Linked DNA regions of Homo sapiens: all the other regions are linked to region 4. Evidence: promoter capture Hi-C in human tissues and cell types (Jung and others, 2019). All regions are on one chromosome and are shown on one strand. The core of a region is centred on a gene start or on the middle of the fragment in contact, and the rest is flanking DNA. Distances in the headings are between cores, read along the strand shown. Region 1 holds the start of TMCO2 (transmembrane and coiled-coil domains 2). Region 2 holds the start of COL9A2 (collagen type IX alpha 2 chain). Region 3 holds the start of SLFNL1 (schlafen like 1). Region 4 has its middle 7.4 kb from the start of NFYC.

Region 1 (2,819 bases), core at 280-2,779, 440 kb before region 4:
TTGCCTAAGTCAGTAAGTCCTAATAGGGCATGATATGGAAGACTACTGAGTGGAAGTGACTGACAGATGAGTGGGTGGATGCCACTATTAAAGGTAAACTGAAGGCCGAGTGTGGTGGTTCACGCCTGTAATCCCAGCACTTTGGGAGGCCTAGGCGGGTGGATCACGAGGTCAGGAGTTCGAGACCAGCCTAACCAACATGGTAAAGCCCCGTCTCTACTAAAAATAAAAAAATTAGCCAGGCGTGGTGGCACATGCCTGTAATCCCAGCTACTCAGGAGGCTGAGCCAGGAGAATCGCTTGAACCCCAGAGGCAGAGGTTGCAGTGAGCCAAGATTGCGCCACTGCACTCCAGCCTGGGAGACAGGGCGAGACCAAAACCCCGCCTCAAAAAAAAAAAAAAAAAAAAAAAAAAAAAAAAAAAAAAGCCCTGTTTATATCCTACCTCCTTGCTGGGTGCAGTGGCTCATGCCTGTAATCTCTGCACTTTGGGAGGCCAGGGCAGGTGGATCACTTGAGGTCAGGCATTCTAGACCAGCCTGGCCAAAATGGTGAAACCCCATCTCTACTAAAAATACAAAAAATTAGCCAGGCGTGGTGGCGGGCGCCTGTAATCCCAGCTACTCAGGAGGCTGAGGCAGGAGAATCGCTTGAACCTAGGAGGCATAGGTTGCAGTGAGCTGAGATCGCACCACTGCACTCCAGCCTGGGCGACAGAGTGACACGCCAGCTCAAAAAAATAAAAATAAAAAATCCCATCTCCTCACATTTCCATTCAACCTCAATACAACTCAGTTTTTTTTATTATGTGAAAACAGCTGCAACAGCTGCTGTCCATTTGAATTGTTGGAAATGTAGATCTACACTAACCAAGAGAGAAGCCACTAGCCACAGGTGGCTATTTAACTTTTTTTTTTTTTTTTTTAGATGGAGTCTCGTTCTGTCACCAAGGCTGGAGCACAACATCAGCTCACTGCAACCTCTGCCTCCCAGGTTCAAGTGATTCTCCTGCTTCAGCCTCCCAAGTAGCTGGGACTACAGGTGTGCACCACCACGTCAGGCTAATTTTTGTATTTTTAGTAGAGACAAGATTTCACCATGTTGGCCAGGCTGGTCTCGAACTCCTGGGCTCAAGTGATCCACCTGCCTCAGCCTCCCAAAGTGCTGGGATTACAGGCGTGAGCCACCATGCCCAGCCAAATTTAGTTAAAATGTAAAATGCAATCTCTGCTGCACTATTCACATTTCAGGTAACTAGTGGTTACCATATTGGACATGGCAGATAAAGAACATTTTCATTATTGCAAAAAGTTGTACTGGACAGCACTATGCTAGAGCCAGAACTAGCCAAAGATCAGACAAAGCAATATGAATGAACTGAAAACCCAGGCCGGTGCCTGGTTGGTTTTGAGTAAGATTCATTGGTTGGGTGAGTGGGAAGCAAGCTGACCTTTGGAACAGTGACATCACAAAGCACAGCTCACAATGGCTCTGGAATACCTAGGCCTCCAGACTACTCCCCCTAACTCATATTTAGATTCCTGAAGCTTCTGCACATGTAGTTCCTAGAGCTGCTGCTTATTAAAATGTCAACATCTTCATCTTCTAGCTGGGACAACCTCTTAGAGTCTCTCTCTCTCAGCACAGTATGGAATTGGATACAAGCAAGTTTTTTGGGAGAGACTAGTGCACCTCAGCAAACAAGTTTGGGACTATTAGATAATCTTGCTCCAGCTGTGCAAATCATCTTGAGGATTTCTTTCTTGATTTTATTGGGAATAGGAATATATGCCTTATGGAAACGAAGTATTCAGTCAATTCAGGTTATACTCTTTTGTTACAAACATTTATATAGTTATAAATTGAAATTTGATTAGTTCTCTCCCATATTGCTGCCACCAGTTTTAAGATCATGCAGATGTGCAAAGGCGAACCTTTGTCTCTTAAGTTGGCAAAAACTAGGTTATCCTTGAAAATCTCCACCAATTAGGCTTTGGGCATAAAAATGCTTTTCTCACAATGGTCTTTGGCTTGTCTTCTGTAATAAAATAGACCAAACATGTTGGTAACCTGAAAAGACAGCCTTACCCTCAAAAATTTTTGATCACTTATTCATCTTTGAGTGCTACTATGTTTATACAATAGGCACCAAAGTAGCTAGGATCATGAGTATGGCCTTTCTTACTATGCCATTGTTCTGTAACTGATAAGGAGGCATATGTATTAAGTCATCACAATGTGTTCATTATTGTGTTTTGACAAGATAAGGCTCCATAAGTATATAGGAGCTCTTTGGGGAGTAGGAATTTAACTGGCTGGGATTGTGAGAGACAGGATTTTACATACTTCTGTGTAGTCACCAATAATAATAGTTGACATACAATATAGTTGAATGCTTTGAGAATCTCAAAAATTCCATGAAATGGATGGAGATTATTTTCACATGACAAGTGAAGAAACTGAGGTGCACTGAGGTTCAGTGGAAACTTAAGGTGACAGGCTTTTAAAACGGCTTTCTTAGAGTGACAAGTTTACTTGATAAATGCAGAGAGAAGTTGTTATTGGATCATTTTTTAGCATTCACTTATTTTCATATGTCACTATTGTTTAGTAATCATGGTCACGGGGCCTTTCTATTTTAAACCATCACAATCCTGCATAACAGTCAGGGAGAGATTATTTGCTCCATTTTGTAGATGAGAGAACTTGATTGCTACCCACCCAAGTTCACATAGTTTGTAAGAGCTGGCAAAATTGGAGTTTGAATCGAATTTTTAGGATTTGAAATTCAGTTCTTCTCCAAAATCTCATTTAATGCA
Region 2 (3,116 bases), core at 551-3,050, 370 kb before region 4:
TACATCTCCGGGCACCCCGAAGTCCCCACCCCCACCACAGCGCTCACAAAGTTCTCCTTTGTCTGCCGCCTCCCTCCCGCCCTGGTCTCAGGTTAGAGACTTACGTCGATGCCGTCGGATCCAGGCACTCCCGGCGGTCCCGGGGGACCCGGGGGGCCCCGCTCTCCCGGTGGACCTCTCTGAAAAACACACACGGGGTGGGGCAGTCCTCAGACAGTGCAGGAAGCTGGGCGTCCCCGGGGCTGCAAGCGACCCTGGGAGCGGGGTCCTAGGGGCGCAGCTCTTCCGCGAACTCCCACGTATTGAGAATCTTCTGTATAGCAGGCACTGTGTGCCATTACATGCATTCATTATCTTACAGAATACTCAGAACCGGGAGGCGGGCGCTATTACGGGCCCCAGTTTGCAGTCGAAGAAACTGGCTCAGAACGTGAAGGGTCCATGGTCACTGAGAGTGGGCGGCGGCGCCAGGAGTCCGCCCTGGATCTGCCCGACTCCTTCCACTGTGCCAGTTTGCCCTTGCGCGGTCGCGGTGGGGAATAGATGGAGACGTGGACAGCTCAAATAAATCACAGATGGAATGTAAGGTTGTGCCTAGCAGGCTGCCGGCCCTCAGTGAGCGGTGGCTCGGGTTGTTGTTCTTACGTGAACGACAGGCAGAGACAGCGCCTCCTCCTCTCCCCATGGTGCGGGAAAACCCGACGGGAAAGTGGGGGAGGCGCAGAGAAAGGAGGTGTAGGGAGGTGAAGCGGGTACTATCTTCCCACTCGGAGCGCCCCTTCGGCAGCACAGCTGCCCGGTCCTCCCTCTGCTAAGCCCTGACTGCTGCAGGGGAGCAGGAGGAGCCGGCACCTCCCAGAAAGCAGACCCTCTCTCTGGATCCCGTTTGCCTGCAATTCAATGCCCCTGGGTGGGTGTGAGGTTTCAGGGAGGTCACAAGTCATATCAAGATGAGGCGAGCTCACAGCTGGAGAGTCTCCATCCTGCTGCCCATCTCTGAACAGATCAGAGATCTTAAAAGGCGGCCCTTTTAAGAGGCCAGCTCGGACCCAGGCAGGGGTCCCGGTGCCCACGACCTCCCCAGGCCGCGAAGTGCCAGGCTGGCGCCCCGCAGGCGAGCTCGAAACCACACCCAGCACCCGACCGGGCCCAGTCTCTGCCCTACCCGCGCGCCCGCAGCCCCCGGCGGCCCTCGGAAGGGAGACGTGGGTAGGCGGGCAGGGCCGAGAGGCCGCCTCGGGGCGACAGCGGCGTCTGGTTGGAGCCGGCGCCCCCTGGGAGGCGGCGGGGGCGGAGGCTGCGCAGCGGGTGAATGAGCACCATTGTATGCCCCGCCACCTGGGCTCCCCGGGCTGCCAGGACCGGGCGCCAGCTCCTGCCCCACGCTGCCTGTCCCGGGCCGGGCCGCGCGTCTGGGGACGGGTCCCGTTTGACTCTCCGGCTCAGCCACCTCCATTCACGGTGCCGCGATGGGCACCATGTATGCACCCACCGAGGGGACCTGCCCGCGGCGCTGTCCTCAGGTGGCCTCTCGGGCTAGGGGTGTCAGTAGGCGCGGGACACAGGCAGAGCTCCTCCATCCCGGACTCCAGACCCCGCACCCTGGACCCTGGCAGCGGAGGGGCTGCGAAACTTACAATCTGCGCCAGAGCGAGCACTACCACCTGGAGGAGAACAAGGAGGCTGCGGGGGGAGGCCGTAGCGGCGGCCATGGCTGGCGGCGAGACCAAGGGGGACGGGTGCGTGTCCGCGCACGCACCGACGGCAGAGTCTCCCGGCGCTCCTCCAGCGCTGGCTGTTCGCGGGCAGGGTGGGCTGGGGCTCCTGAATATGCGGGGGGCGGGGCGGGGGCCGGCGTGAGCTGTCACCTGAGAGGACCGGCGGGGTTGCCGGGAGGGAGGCCGGCGCCAGGCATCCAGCTCCGCCCCGCTCGGTCCAGCCTCCTGCGCCCACCCTCTGTCCTCGAGGGGCGACCGGGGTGCGGGTCGGAGATGATGGTCCAGTTTCTTTGTGAGAAGGCATAAGGCCGTCTGAGGTTCCCCTCGGGACCTTCAGGCCCCAGCACCTTCCCCCTGACGCACAGCCTGTGCCCCATCACTTACCCTACGTCCTCTCCAGGGCCCAGGCCGAGAGCACCTCGGGCTCTGCAGATCTTGCTGCAGGCTCTCCCCAGCTCCCGCCCACCTTGCTCCCCTCTCCTCTGGCTCCTTCCTCTCCAAGCACAAACAAACAGGCCTTTTCCATATTAATATGCCACAGTCCTTCCTGGATCAGCCGTCTCATGAATACTCCATCGGCCTCTTCCAGCTCTTTAGTGGAGCTGTGTGCACCTCCCCCACCCCCGAACTTCCTCACCTCGCTTTCACCTCCCTACTCTGTCCCAACAAGCAAATCTGTCTCCTGGAGGTCTGCAGTGAAGCCCAACCCTTCTTCGGTCCTCCAGGCAGGAAGCTGTTGGCATCTTCACCTGCCCTTGAAGTCTTCCCCATCCAAGCTCCTGCCATCCAGCTCCCCTTTTTCTATTGCCTTTAATTCTCTGCAGCTGCCTTAAGCACTGGTGTGTTTAGGATTGGGCCTTCTCACTCCATGTTCATAGAAACAACTACCACTTTATTCACCAGAGTTTCCGAACCCCGCTGTCCAGCATAGCCCGACTCCAGAGAGCCTTCCCTTCCCTCCCACTCACTTAGGCAATATTGGTAAAATGCTTTGGAATCTGACTTTTTCACAATTATAGATATGACCACAGGCACCCCAAACTCTATGAAGTCTCATTTTCCTCATCTGTAAAATGGGGATACTAATAGTCCATATATATATATATATATATTTTTTTTTTAAGACAGAGTCTTAAAAGGCTCTGGAGTGCAGTGGCACGATGTCAGCTAACTGCAACCTCGCCTCGCGGGTTCAAATGATTCCCCTGCCTCAGCCTCTCGAGTAGCTGGAATTACAGGCATGAGCCACAATGCCTGGCTAATTTTTATATTTTTAGTAGAGATGGGGTTTCGCCATGTTGGCCAGACTGCTCTTGAACTCCTGACTTCAGGTGATCTGCCTGCCTCAGCCTCCCAAAGTGTTGGGATTACAGGCATGAGCCACCGTGCCCAGCAAAT
Region 3 (3,074 bases), core at 551-3,050, 340 kb after region 4:
GTCTTCTAGGGTCTCCCAGGCCCAGAGGCTGGAATGTAAAAGGACCTAAGGAGAGGAGGTCCCCTCGTGGCCTTTCTTCACACAAACGTCGGGCTTGAGCTTGAGGCAAACTGTTTTTCCCAGAGAAAGCTGGCAGTACCAGCCGCAAGCCATGGTCATTTGAGTGGCAGCCCCCAAGTTTGCAGATTTGTCCCTGCTTCCCCAGAGACACCCCTCCATCCCCACTCTGCAGGCCACTCCCACTCAGAGGCTCTCCCTTGGGGTGAGGCTTTGGAGCTTGCTTGGGAAAAGTCCCACTTACCTCTCTGTGGCTGAAGGGCCCTTGGGCCTCACTCAATAGCAGGTCCTTCCCACGGGCTGCCAGCTCCTTGAGGATTAGGTGCTCCTCCAGGGCCGTCTGCAGGCGCCAGGGGAGGGAGGCCAGGGTGTCCCTGTGGACAGTCACCTGCACCAGTGCATAGGCCTTCCGCGGCCGCCTCACCACTTCAATGTGCTCCCGCGCCACCGGCATCTCCAGCCGCTCCAGGGTGTCTCGCAGCAGGCAGGCAAGCACCGGCACTGAGAACTGGGGGTTCAGATGGCCCACATAGAGAGTGTGCGCCGAGGGAGCCTCCTCGAGGTCAGAGTACTCCGTCAGGGACTGCTCTGCGGGTAGCTCCGGCAGGGACTCCTCACCCCAGGACTCCATGAAGGGCTCTGACACCTGTGTTTGCACTGATCTCTTCATGGGGGTCATGGGAAGGCTCTCCCTGGGAAGGGGTTCCAGGATTCCTCACTGCTGGCTGCTTCTCCCAGGGTCTGTGTTCTCAGTGTGGCTTAAGGGCTCCCAGAGGACTCAGGGAGTGTCCCGGCTCCTGGGAGGTACACAGATTGGCAGAGACTGGGCAGGGCCAGAGAGAGGGAGGGCAGAGGGCAAGCAGGAAAGGGCCTGCCACCCACCTGAGGCCTAGGATGAGAAAGCAGAGTCACGTGGACTGAGCAAGACACAGGGCCTGTGGGAAGACGGGATCTGCCCAAAAAGTGGCAGAAGGGACCAGAACTCAGGTCTCTGAGAGCTCCACCATTTCAGTGGCCCCAGGGGTCCTGTCTTCCCTCCCCAACCCACAGGCTAGGGGCCTCCTAGGTACCCTCAGGGTTTCCTGCCTACCAGTTCACTCCTGCCTCCAGGCAACAGAGAAAACCTTTACACAGGGCCTCCTGGAGAGGAGGCCTTAACCCAGGACTCTGAGGACTGGCTGGTGGCCCCATTGCAGCTTCTCTGCCTGCTCTAAAACCCCATGTGAGGCCATCGGGGGCTCTGAAACTAGGCAGCGCTGGGGCAGAGGCTTTTAGAGCAGAGGATCTCACGCTTTTTGGCACACTGATGAAAGCTATGGCCTCTCAGAAAAATGGCCTTTGCATATAAACATAACTTAAGGTGGCTCCTAGACCCTAAGAACTAGTCTAGACTGAGTCCTCCATTTTTGGTCCAGAGAGCAGAGGTCAACAGGGCAGAACGAGGGTTAGAGTTGGGGCCCTAGTGCCCCCGCCCCAAGTCCAGGGAGCCTCTGTCCTGAGCTGTGCACATATGTGCACACACCAGCCCCTCTACTGCTCCCCACACACCCAGCCTGCATCTTCTCAAATGGAATCCTTGAGGCAGTTGGCCTGGGGGCATTCAGGTCAAACAGGAAGAGGAGGAGAGGAGAGGCCTATGACCTTCATGTCCTGGTGGCTCCCGCGGGAGCATGGGAGGTGCCTGCCCTGAGCTCCCATAGCCTCCCGACCCCTGGCCGGTAGCTCTCAGGGAACTTGGAGGCTTGGCACAGGGACGGCCAGAACCAGGGTTATAGGAAGTGGGCGGGGCCTGCACAGCTACCTCTGTGATCTCATGAGGTTCAACAATGCCTTCTTGGCCAGCCACAGGCAGGCTGGGTGCGGGAAATCAAACAGGAAAACTCAGCTCCCTGTGGGTCCCACCACACACTGGAAGCAGACCCAGCGGCCCACCCACCATGCAGCTTGGCTGTGGGACACACTTCCCCACTTAGTGATGTCTCTTCAGGCCCCAGTTCCCATGCAGGTCACCTCTTGCCACCTCTTTCAGCGCTGCTGCCTAAAGCCTCCACCTCCCTCTTTAGTCAGTCACCAATCCCAGGCTCTACTGAGTACTGACAGGGCCCAGCTGCTCCCAAGATGGAGCAGGAGGCACATGGTAGGCTCCAGGGCTCCCCCTGACGCCAGGCCCTTCTCTGTGCTGGAGACAGAGGCTGCTGTCCAGAAGAGCCCTGAAAAATAGGTCAGGCGTAGCTATCTATCTCTTTGGGAAGATGAGGTTGTTACCTGCTGTTGGAGAAACCAAGACGTGGGTGACACACAGTCTTTATCAGCACAGGACTGACCAGTGCTCATCATTCTGCAGAAGGCTGGCAGCGCTTGCCCACACTGCTTCTGGAAGCCCCAATTGGGGGCAGTAAGGATGGTGCCACAGTTAGATGCTTCAACTAAGAAAGCTGTTTGACAGCGTAGAGAAGCTGCCTTCCTTGAAAGCAGCCTTTCTGAAGATGTTACCAAATGTTTGTTTCCTAGGGGGTGAGGCAGTAGTTTGGGTAGAGCACTCAAGAAAAGAGGCTATGGTGTGCGGGGAAGAGAGGGGCGCAGGCCTCAACTGGTGGCAGTGCGAGGCTCTGGGGAGAGTGCATTCGGTGCCCTCTCCTTGCCCGCCCGGGCAGCAGCCAGGTTGGGCTCGGCTTTGTGTCCACAGCTCTTAGGGTTAGAGAATGACGGCTCCAAGCTCCCCCTGCCTCACCCCCTCTCCCTCAAGCCTTTCTTGCCTCTGTCATCCATGAGGTGCCCTCACAGCAACTGAGGCTATAGCTGTTTTGAGATGGCCAACTCAAGTCGTGTTGAACTGTGCAGAAATAGCTGTCCGGGAGAAGCACCTTGACAGACGAAACACCTGAACATGACCAGAGGCGTTCTCCCTACTTACCTAGAGGCCTTGCTATTGGGTGGCTGTTCTGCATGAAATTTCCCAAATTGACTTGAGTGCAGCAACTTTCCCCACTCTTCCTGGCAGTCTCTTTAAGCCACTG
Region 4 (2,734 bases), core at 203-2,702:
CATGTTGGCCAGGCTGGTCTTGAACTCCTGACCTCATGATCTGCCTGCCTTGGCCTCCCAAAGGCATGAGTCACTGTGCCTGGCTGAACTTTTGCAGATCTTTTGTCTCTTTCTCTCTTTGTGGTATTACATACAACTTTCTTTGCATCTTTCACCTCTCTAGCTCAGAGAGGTTAAGTAAATGGAATGGGGACTCGAACTCAGGCTAACTTCAAAGCACATGCTGCAGACAATATTCCATGCTGCTTCCCAAAGTAGACCAATAGTCTAGACCTATGCTGTCTAATATGCAGTCATTCGCTACATGCTATGGTTTGAATGTCCCTCCAAAACTCAAGTTGAAATTTAATTGCTATTTTAACAACGTTGAGAAGTGGAACACTTAAGAGGTGATGAGGTCACGAGGGCTCTGCCCTCATAAATGGATTAATGCATGGGAATGGGTTAGTTATGGAGGGAGTGGACTCCAGATAAAAGGATACGTTTGGCCCCCCTCCCTCTCTCACATGCACACTTCCTCACCATGTGATATCTTCTGCCACGTTATGGTGTGGCAAGAAGGCCCTCACCAGATGTCGAGCAAATGCTGGTGCCATGCTCTTGGGCTTTCCAGCCTCCAGAACCACAACCCAAATACATTTCCTTTGTTTATAAATTACCCAGTCTTTGGTATTTTGTTATAGCAGCAGAAAACTAAGATACTACCTGTAGCTATTTCAATGTAAACAAAATGAAAAATTCAATTTCTTGGTTGCACTAACCATCTTTCAAATGCTCAACAGCTACACGTGGCTAGTGGCTACTGTATTGAACAGCACAGATATAAAGCATTTCTACCACTGCAGAAAGCTCTGTTGGATAGTGTTGGTTAGATAAAGGTTCTGTCCTCTGACCTCTTTACCCTCTTTTCCTTTATTTATTCTCAGGAAGTGGACAGACATTGTTTAGTCTGCCTAATCCTTTACTCCTACTTTTCTGAGAAGTGTTACTCTATCCTCTACCCTCCAGCATACCTTCATTCATAGAGTTACAGTAGATACAACCATGTTTATGCATGACCCTGTCCCCCTTTCCATAATGATACTTGATTCAGTGGTGGACATTTGGCCAAAGCTAGCTCTAACAAGAGCTCTTCCTCCCAGAAATTTGAAATTGAGCCTAAGAATCTAGTCACCTGGATGATTTTTTGAATGGAGGCAACTTGGGACTAATTGGTTACCATGTTTTATATGACATGGATTGGGAAAACTGGTCTTCAGAATGATAAAGCAATGACAAAATGGTTACACATATTGGGGAAAGTTGGATCTAGGTGTTCAAAGGATGTCAGGACTCTGTCTCCCTCTCTGTCTGAATTCTGCCTTCCTCTGTGATGTCTTCATTCTTAGAAAGGCTCTTTCCATGAAGCAAGAATAATGGCTGCCCTCAGTTCCTCATAGCTCAAGATCTCCAGAAGAAAAATCCTGTCTTTCTTATATATTTCAAATCTTTAGAAGGGCTTTTCTTAGCTTAGTTTGGGTGATGTGCCCATCTCTTCAAAAACTGTGATCTGTTTTAGCAAGGTTTCCTAGAAAACAAAGCCGGAAGAAGGGATTAAGTGCTAAAGCTTTATATGAGGGGCACAGCCATGGAGTAGTGAGAATTAAGGATAAGAGAAAGTGGGAAAACATGAGAAGCAAGGGAAGGAAATGTTTGCTGGCTACTTCACAATGAGCTGTAGCTAGTCTCTTGACAGGCGCACCCACTTGGCCATGGAGAATGTCTCTCTAGACAGGTTGTATGGAGAAATTTTATCTTGAAACAGCTCATTAGAGGAAGGAAGGGAAGAGTGGATTGTTATAGCCAGCTCCTTCCTGTCTCCCATTGATCAGTTTGCTCTGTGGGTAGCTAAATCCTCTGTAGTAGGTTGCTTCACTGGCTCCTTCAGCAGCTGCTCAGGAAGCCAAATCCCACGCTCTGTGAGGTGGTGTTTCATCAGGGTCTGGAAGTTGCAGGAGAAGCCATAGACTCCATGTTTGTAACTTGATGGCCTCAAGCAACAGAACTGTGAGACCTCGCTTAGATTTGGTCAGCTATGTCTGTTGTTGAGGTGGACCAAGTGGCTAATTGTCTGGGAGCCAAATTACCCTGAGAGGCTATGAGGAGGTACTGGGCCAAGATGTGGGAGATCGCTGATTGGTCAGACTGGGTCATGTTCCTACTCCTGTGGCTAATGGGGTACAGAAGATGTGCTATGGTAGGATGCATCCTGTCCTCTTTCCCTTCATGTTAGTTCAGAGTCTCAGGAAATCAAACGCCAAGACAGAATAAAATGCAATAAATTTATTATGAAAAACATAATTTATTAATATATATATTATATATATTAATATATATAATTATTAATATATAATATAATTATATTATATATATATTATATAATATAATATATATTAATATATAATAAATAAAAAAATTTATTATGAGAGGAAATGGAAGGGGAAGACTGAGAGAGCCATCGCACAGTGACGCAGGCCTGACCCTGAGTGAAGGACAGAGGGAAGGTGTTCAAGGTGGAAGTGTCTCAGACTGCAATGAAGTTCTAAGGAAAGTTTGGCAAGGCCATTGAGGAGTCCTTGAGTCAAAGTCACCCATCGGAAGAGTATCACTTATCCCAGGAACAGTCCTGTCCTAAAATCCCCGTTGGGCTCAGTTATTGGCTATGAGCAGCGTATGGGAAGTAAGACCTCGGAGT

The links. The method cuts DNA at HindIII sites, captures the fragments that hold promoters and counts their contacts. A contact is called where the count stands out against the background at its distance.
Region 1: a contact is called between the fragment with the promoter of TMCO2 here and a fragment that was not itself captured in region 4, in 1 of the 25 tissues and cell types used here (hippocampus).
Region 2: the fragment with the promoter of COL9A2 here is called in contact with a fragment that was not itself captured in region 4 in 1 of the 25 tissues and cell types used here (small bowel).
Region 3: the fragment with the promoter of SLFNL1 here is called in contact with a fragment that was not itself captured in region 4 in 4 of the 25 tissues and cell types used here (adrenal gland, bladder, dorsolateral prefrontal cortex and 1 more).

The regions. Positions count from the first base shown.
Region 1 is chr1:40,246,408-40,249,226 of GRCh38, forward strand. TMCO2 (transmembrane and coiled-coil domains 2) reads left to right here and starts at 1,530. Exons shown (of 2, transcript NM_001008740.4): 1 at 1,530-1,823. The coding sequence starts at 1,587. The HindIII fragment of the contact is 6,512 bases long and covers 1-2,819 here.
Region 2 is chr1:40,315,486-40,318,601 of GRCh38, forward strand. It overlaps COL9A2 (collagen type IX alpha 2 chain), which reads right to left and starts at 1,801. Exons shown (of 32, transcript NM_001852.4): 1 at 1,638-1,801; 2 at 105-179. The coding sequence starts at 1,712. RefSeq lists silencers at 46-105, 116-215, 976-1,485 and enhancers at 659-1,295, 1,296-1,932. The HindIII fragment of the contact is 32,999 bases long and covers 1-3,116 here.
Region 3 is chr1:41,019,925-41,022,998 of GRCh38, forward strand. It overlaps SLFNL1 (schlafen like 1), which reads right to left and starts at 1,801. Exons shown (of 6, transcript NM_144990.4): 1 at 1,699-1,801; 2 at 940-946; 3 at 302-854. The coding sequence starts at 736. All of the region lies in intron 1 of SLFNL1-AS1 (SLFNL1 antisense RNA 1), which reads left to right. The HindIII fragment of the contact is 20,466 bases long and covers 1-3,074 here.
Region 4 is chr1:40,682,940-40,685,673 of GRCh38, forward strand. It overlaps a transcript of RIMS3 not described here. Among named protein-coding and RNA genes, the nearest start is that of NFYC, 7.4 kb to the right of the region's middle. The HindIII fragment of the contact is 8,762 bases long and covers 1-2,734 here.